Linked DNA regions of Homo sapiens: region 2 is linked to region 1. Evidence: promoter capture Hi-C in 16 types of primary human blood cells and fetal thymus (Javierre and others, 2016). All regions are on one chromosome and are shown on one strand. Each heading gives the region's core, a stretch centred on a gene start or on the middle of the fragment in contact. The rest is flanking DNA. Distances are from core to core; before and after follow the strand shown. Region 1 holds the start of ADAMTSL4 (ADAMTS like 4). Region 2 holds the start of CTSK (cathepsin K).

Region 1 (3,400 bases), core at 612-3,111:
GGTTCAGTGAGGGCTTGTTTCCTGTGCGTCTCTACCAGCTGGGGAAGCGGGAAGGAGAGGTGCAGCCGGGGCTGCCTCATGCCCCAGCCACAGGCCTCTCATTCTGAAGAGCCGGGAAGTCCATCTGAAGTTCAGCTTTGAACACTGGAGAAGTGAGGCTTGGAAGCCACCCCAGCCACCAAGCCTGACTCTCTTTGCCCCCTTCTTCTCACTTTGAGTCCTTCCCACCCCTGCTCCTCATCCCACTCTTAGTTCTGCTTTCCAGGAAAAAAAAAATCTGTTTCTGTTGGATCTGAAAGGCACCCGGGAGAGGAATCCAGGGAGCCCTCGCATTGCTGAGGTGGGCCAGCTCTGGGGCAGAAAATGACCAAGAGAAGGGTAGGAATGTGCCTGGGGGCAGACACTCAGCCCCACTGCCCTCCCTGAGACCTAGGGTTCGGAATTTGAGGGAGGGGTCAGAGTGGCTGAGCCAGAGCGGGCGCCTCAGGGATTGGGGTTGGGGTGGGGGTTGCCGATGGCCACTCCTTCCCCTGGCTGGGCCGGCCACTAAGGTCAGCAACTCCACCCTGACTGAACGGGGGAGGCCAGGATCTCCAGAGAAGGGCCCATGTTCCACCCAAGTCTTCAGGCTCTGCCTGACTCTTGTTACTCCAGCTGAGGGAAGAAGAAATGGGGTGATAGTCACTGCCTGCCCCTTCTCTGATGCCGACCCCTCTTCATGCCCTCTCTGCCTCTGCTTCTCTCTGCCACCGAGATCTCTTCTCGCAGCCCCTCTCCACGGGTCTACCCAGTACACATAATCCCATCCCGAGCTGGGTTTGGCTTTGGCAGTTCCCTGGAGAAGTGAGGGGTGGGGGTGACGTGAGCTCCCGGGGCCCGGGCCAGGCCTGGCTCCCTCTCTGGAAAAGTCCCACCCCACCCTCCCCTGCGCAGCCCGGCAGGGGCCCATGCCCCCTCCTCTGCAGAAACACACGCACATTTATGCTTCTCACCCCTTTCCATGTCCCTCATTTGGTGTCGTTCCCGGCCCAGGACGAGGAAAGGAGAGGTCAGAGGTGGTCACTCTGGTGCCAGAGTAGACCCTGGTCTGGACAAACGCGGGCTCCTCCTGGCCACACCTCTCCACACTGCCCAGTGAAGACCAAGGAACAGAGACCTGCGCAGGGCTCACCCCTTCACCCCCAGGTCTCCCTGCTGGAGAGTGGTTGGACCCTGTGTTTCTGGGCCTAGCCATGGAGAATCCCTGTCCTGAGTCCGAATTCCCGGGCCCTCAGAGCCCTCCACTCCTGGGTCTGGCAGGCCACCCCAACAGGTGTCTTTCTTTTTTGTCAACCTCTTCTGCCATCGGGCTGAGCTGGATCAAGGGCACCCACCTGCGTCCCTCGCGGCGACCCTGTCCTCCAAGTTCAGGAGTGCAGTGGGGGACACACCGTCCGAGAGCACCCTCCTAGAGAGAGGGCAGGAGGCACCGGCCGCGCGGGGAGGTCATGGGTCTGTTTTCCAACTTTACTATGTGACTTAGGAGGAATTTTGGTTCACTCCCCGCCCGGGTGATGGGGCCAGAGTTCCACGGGATCAGACTCCCTCCCCAGGAATTCGACCCCAGGGGCTGGAAGATTGTCCGAGGCCACCGGAGCTGGGTCCGGGGTCGTGGCGGGGTCGCGACCGCACAGCGCAGGGAGAGGGGACGACGCGGGCGCGCGGGGCGGGCGGTCTAACGGGACCCGGGAGAGGGGCGGCCGGGGCCGGGGTCCCGGGGAGGTCTCTACCTGCTCTGCGAGCCCCCGGTGGCCCGTTAACCCTTCTGCGCCCAGGCGCTCTCTCCAGGCAACCTCGCTCCGCGGCGGCCACTGGGGCCCCTGAGCCGCGCTCCGGTCACGGCCGCCTCGGCCGCAACTCCGCCCTCGCGCCCGCCCCCGCCCAGCCCCGCCCGCCACGCGCCCCAGCCCGCGCCCCTCGGCGGCCCCGGGGTGGGGCCGGTCTGCCTCGCAGCCCCACTCGCCAGGACCACCCACCCCGGGCTGCGCGCCGGGCGCCCCCCGACGGCTGCGTGAGCTGAAGCCCGGGCTGGCCCAGCCGGGGTCGGAGGCTGCAGTCGCTCCCGGGCGCTGTCCTCGTGCCCGGCCGAGACTAGGGACTTAAGCAGCCCGGGCTGGCCCAGCCGGGGTCAGAGGCTGCAGTCGCTCCCGGGCGCTGTCCTCGTGCCCGGCTGAGACTAGGGACTTAAGCAACCCGGGCCTCCGAGCCGCTCGGGTGAGCGGTGCGAACACGGCGCGGCGCGGCGCGGCACAGGCGGGGCAGCCTCCAGGGGCGCCTGGAGCGAGGCGGCCTGGGAGAGCCGCTGGTCCGGGAGGGAAGCGCCCTGGACGGAGGTACCCGCGGCCCCCGATCCGCGTGGGTCCAGGCTCTCCCCTCCACGCAGCCTCCCCTGCAAACTCAGTCACTCCTGCCTCTCCCGTGTTGGGCAGTGGTGGTTCAGATTGCTGGGACTTCTATGAGCTTCGGTTTTTTTCCTCAGTAAGGTTTTACACTCGGGACTCAGCGAAAGGACAGCGTGCTGACTTCTGAGTCAGACTGATCTGGATTTGAACCTCAGCTCCAGCTCTTGCCAGCTATGTGGTCTTCGACGAATACTTCCACCCCTGTGTGGTGCAGTTTGCTCATCTGCAAAATGGGACTAATCTAATATATATGATGGGCTTGGATATGTCTCTTTATGCATTTATACATGGAAGAATGCACCCCAAACTCAGTAGTATTGGTGACATCTGGGGAGGGATGCAGGGTTGGGGGAGGACTGAAAAAGGCTTTTGCTTTTTACTCTGCGTTATGTTTATTATTATTATATTATTATTTATTTATTTTTTTTGAGACGGAGTCTCACTCTGTCGTCCAGGCTGGAGTGCAGTGGTGCTATCTTGGCTCACTGCAAGCTCCGCCTCCCAGGTTCACGCCATTCTCCTGCCCTAGCCTCCTGAGTAGCTGGGACTACAGGCGTCTGCCACCACGCCCGGCTAATTTTTTGTATTTTTAGTAGAGACGGGGTTTCATCGTGTTAGCCAGAATGGTCTCGATCTCCTGACCTCGTGATCCGTCCGCCTCGGCCTCCCAAAGTGCTGGGATTACAGGCGTGAGCCACCGCACCCAGCTATGTAATGTTATTTTTGTGAATTTTTTTAACCACAAGAGCAATCCATCTATTAGTTTTATCTTTTTTTTTTCTTTTTTTTTTTGAGATGGAGTTTCACTCTTGTTGCCCAGGCTGGAGTGCAGTGGCGCGATCTCGGCTCACTGCAACCTCCGCCTCCCAGGTTCAAGTGATTCTCCTGCCTCAGCCTCCCAAGTAGCTGGGATTAGAGGCATGCGCCACCATGCCTGGCTTATTTTATATTTTTTAGTA
Region 2 (3,532 bases), core at 184-2,683, 260 kb before region 1:
CCATACTCAAAATACCCAGTTTAGCAAGCAACTGAGATTTAAGTCTCTCTGGCCCTAAGAGGTTTTTCCTCTTTGCTCCCTCCAATCTTGAGATTGGGTTTTGCTTTAGAGTGCAAGTATCATAATTCCGTATGATAGATGGGGCCTGGACACCCATCTCAACAGGGTCACTTGGTAATTAACAATAGCCATATAAATGCGGATACAGGTTACTACCCTCACCCTTTACCTTCCTCAGGTAACAGTCGTAGATACCAGCTTTTTTTTTTTTTTTTTTAAATTGGCTTTGGCCAGTAGCTAAAGTGCAAGACTGAATTAATGAGAAGATATATTAAATGTAGTCATAGGGGACTGAGGAGCAAGGGTGGCCTTGAAGAGGCCAAAGGAATGTCCATTTGCTGAGTTTCCCTTCCTTATGTCTCCAGTCTGGTGCCAGGTAGTGGAGTAAAAAAGGAGACAGTTTATTTTTTTATTCTATGTGCACACTTACAGTATACATATATATTTATATCACAATTTACGAAACCAAAAAGTTGAGTTTCCAATGGAACCCTTGTTTTTTAATAATCGACTTTTTAAATGTGATCAGGACTATAATATTGTACAGTTATTATAGGGCTTTTGGGGAAGGGGAGGATAGCGAGAAGATGCTCTGGGGGTTTTGTTTTTGCTTTTCCTTCAGGGTTTTATTTTTGACTGTTTTGTTTTCTTGTTGGCCATTTCTGTATTGCTGGCATCTGTGCTAAGCTTTACAGTGGCAAAAATAATGACATGTAGCAAAGATTTTCAAACAAAATATTTTTTCCTTTTGTAAAATTTCTTGTGTTGTGTGATCTTGATTGCGGCTTTATCATTCCTTTCCAGTTCATAAACAACAGGCACCCACAACCAGAGGAATCTATAGTTTAAGCTCCAGACATACAAACATAAGGCACATTGTGTCTTTAATTTCAGGAATCAGAAATCATAGGGTTCTGATCACATTGCACGCCTCCCCCCTCACTTGTCCTCCTGATCCTGACACATTCTGAGTAACATCAGCAGGAATGCTCTGACCATGAGGTGGGGGTTTTGGGGTGGGCGTTGCCTGGGTTCTTGGGAGAGAGGGGAAGAGTCGGGACTTGAAAACCACTAGGGCACATCTGGATGCCTTCCCCCAGTATGTCCTTTTCTGGATTAAAATGAGTGAAATTTAAACTGTTCAAGTCTGGACCTGGTTTCCCTCTAGGAGACTATGTTGGTTCATTAGCAACTTTTTTTTTTTTTTTTTTTTTTGTGTGTGTGTGTGTGTGTGTGTGTGAGAGATGGAGTCTCGCTCTGTTACCCAGGCTGGAGTGCAGTGGCACGATCTTGGCTCACTGCAACCTCTGCCCCTTGGGTTCAAGCAATTCTCCTGCCTCAGCTTCCCAAGTAGCTGGCACTACAGGTGTGTGCCACCATGCCCAGCTAATTTTTGTGTTTTTTTTTTTTAGTAGAGATGGGGTTTCACTATATGTTGGCCAGGCTAGTCTCGAACTCCTGACCTTAGGTGATCCACATGCTTTGGCCTCCCAAAGGCCTGGGATTACAGGCGTGAACCACTGCGCCTAGCCTGTTAGCAGCTCTTAAAATCCAGAGGCATAAGCCTGTATTTTTGAGGGTTTATGCATGGAATCCAGCTAGAAACTGAGTCTATTACAGATCCCATTTATTATCCTTTCTATTCCAAGAAGCCTTTTTTTCTCCTTCCCCACATCTGTTTATGGAAGAAAATGAAGTTTGGGGTGTGGTTTGAGGAATCAGCTAGATTCTTATGATCTGTCACATGCTTGGATGTTGGGGAAGCATTTGGAGAAGCTCATGTGACTTGTCCTAGATTGGGGATTTTAATTGAGACAGATGATGTTTATCGGGCATCCCACCACCTGAGAGTTTTAGCAACAGAGTCACATGTGAGTCCATCAGAACTTACGGCATTGATTCAAGTGCTGTCATAAATAACCAGGACTGCTGTTTTTGGTTACTTTTAAAGACAGTTTCATCTGGACTTTCTGGGCATATCCTCCTTCAGCAAAACCACATTAGGCTGGGAAAACTATTCTGCCTGGAAGTAATGACAACTTGCAACCAACAAGCTTATAAAAATACAAAGAATTCTGGAGCCTATGGCTTCCATTACATTATTCTTTTATAGCCTTTTATGTTCATTACCGCATCCCAGAGGTGAGAGTCAGACACAAATATGAAAATAGGTTTCAATGTTGGAGAGGTAAATCCTAACAGGAAAGGGGTAGGAAAAGATATAATCCCCCAATATTAAAATAAAGATATTGAAGAAGAAGGATGGGAGAGACTAGGGCTGTGTCCTTCCTTTTACTCACCAAAAGAGAAAGTAAGCTCCTATTTGAGTCAATAGATATTGAGGTCTTGTTATTTGCCACCAAAGACAGTCTTGTGAGACTAAATAGCTAGTAATTCCCTACCCTGGCACACATGCTGCATACACACAGAAACACTGCAAATCCACTGCCTCCTTCCCTCCTCCCTACCCTTCCTTCTCTCAGCATTTCTATCCCCGCCTCCTCCTCTTACCCAAATTTTCCAGCCGATCACTGGAGCTGACTTCCGCAATCCCGATGGAATAAATCTAGCACCCCTGATGGTGTGCCCACACTTTGCTGCCGAAACGAAGCCAGACAACAGATTTCCATCAGCAGGTAACGTTTGCAACTTCCTAGATCTTTTAGCTTTTCATTCCTGTCAATTCTCTGAGTATTAGGGATGTAGTGACTTGAGGATCACAATAAACTTTTAGCCTCTGCAGATGAAAACAGAGATGCACTTCTTAGGTCATTCCCTGGCTAAATAAAATCTGCCTGGAAATCTGTAGAATTCCTTGTATGATTTATATATATACATACATGATTGTTAGTAAAAGCAAAGTATATAGGGAATCATTTCCCCATCCTTCAAGAGTGGCCTTTCTGCAGTGTTTTCTACTTTGGCCAACAAGGATCAAAACGGTTAACTCCTTAGTGAGGAGGAGGAGAGTGGTATGGGGAGGTAGTAGCTCAGTGCTTCCTGTTCACTGAGACATCTCAAAGCCCTTAACACTCTAGTTTTTAAATGTCCTACTGGACATTTTGCCAGTTTGCAAAATTACATGTAAATGGACTATAAGCAATTGTGTAAGCCATATGTCATGCTGCAGGCTGCAAATTGTTCTTAAAATGGAGGATTTGTAATTAAGAAAGCCAATGCAAGAAATGAGTGAAGCTAACTAGAGTAAACTTATGAAAAGCTGTGAATTTCATCATCATAGAACATTGCTTTTCAGTCTGAACATTCTTCTAACAAACCTTGGATCTGAGGCTTCTTGTCCTTTGCGGCAGCCACAGTGGGTTTTTGTTGTTAGGGGAAAAATAAAAAACCTTGCCCGCAGCATCTGGTTAAGATTAGGGCAGTTTCCTGCCTAAGGAGGGAAGGGAGAGAAAAAGGAAGAAGAAATGCATAAGGAGAATGAGGAGATATACAATGTCTCAGAAAACAGGAA

Evidence for each region. The method cuts DNA at HindIII sites, captures the fragments that hold promoters and counts their contacts. A CHiCAGO score of 5 or more calls a contact.
Region 2: a fragment that was not itself captured here is called in contact with the fragment with the promoter of ADAMTSL4 in region 1 in 4 of 17 cell types (endothelial precursors, megakaryocytes, erythroblasts and 1 more); the score reaches 12.1 in endothelial precursors.

What each region holds. Positions count from the first base shown.
Region 1 is chr1:150,547,869-150,551,268 of GRCh38, reverse strand. ADAMTSL4 (ADAMTS like 4) reads right to left here and starts at 1,861. Exons shown (of 19, transcript NM_019032.6): 1 at 1,770-1,861; 2 at 1,374-1,447. LOC124904417 reads right to left here and starts at 979. Exons shown (of 1, transcript XM_047438226.1): 1 at 1-979. The coding sequence starts at 979. The coding sequence ends at 209. It overlaps ADAMTSL4-AS2 (ADAMTSL4 antisense RNA 2), which reads left to right. Exons shown (of 6, transcript NR_187269.1): 6 at 2,519-2,705. RefSeq lists an enhancer at 1-655 and silencers at 1,991-2,130, 2,301-2,450, 2,382-2,676. The HindIII fragment of the contact is 42,411 bases long and covers 1-3,400 here.
Region 2 is chr1:150,807,378-150,810,909 of GRCh38, reverse strand. It overlaps CTSK (cathepsin K), which reads left to right and starts at 2,650. Exons shown (of 8, transcript NM_000396.4): 1 at 2,650-2,696. It overlaps ARNT (aryl hydrocarbon receptor nuclear translocator), which reads left to right. Exons shown (of 22, transcript NM_001668.4): 22 at 1-1,197. The HindIII fragment of the contact is 1,367 bases long and covers 750-2,116 here.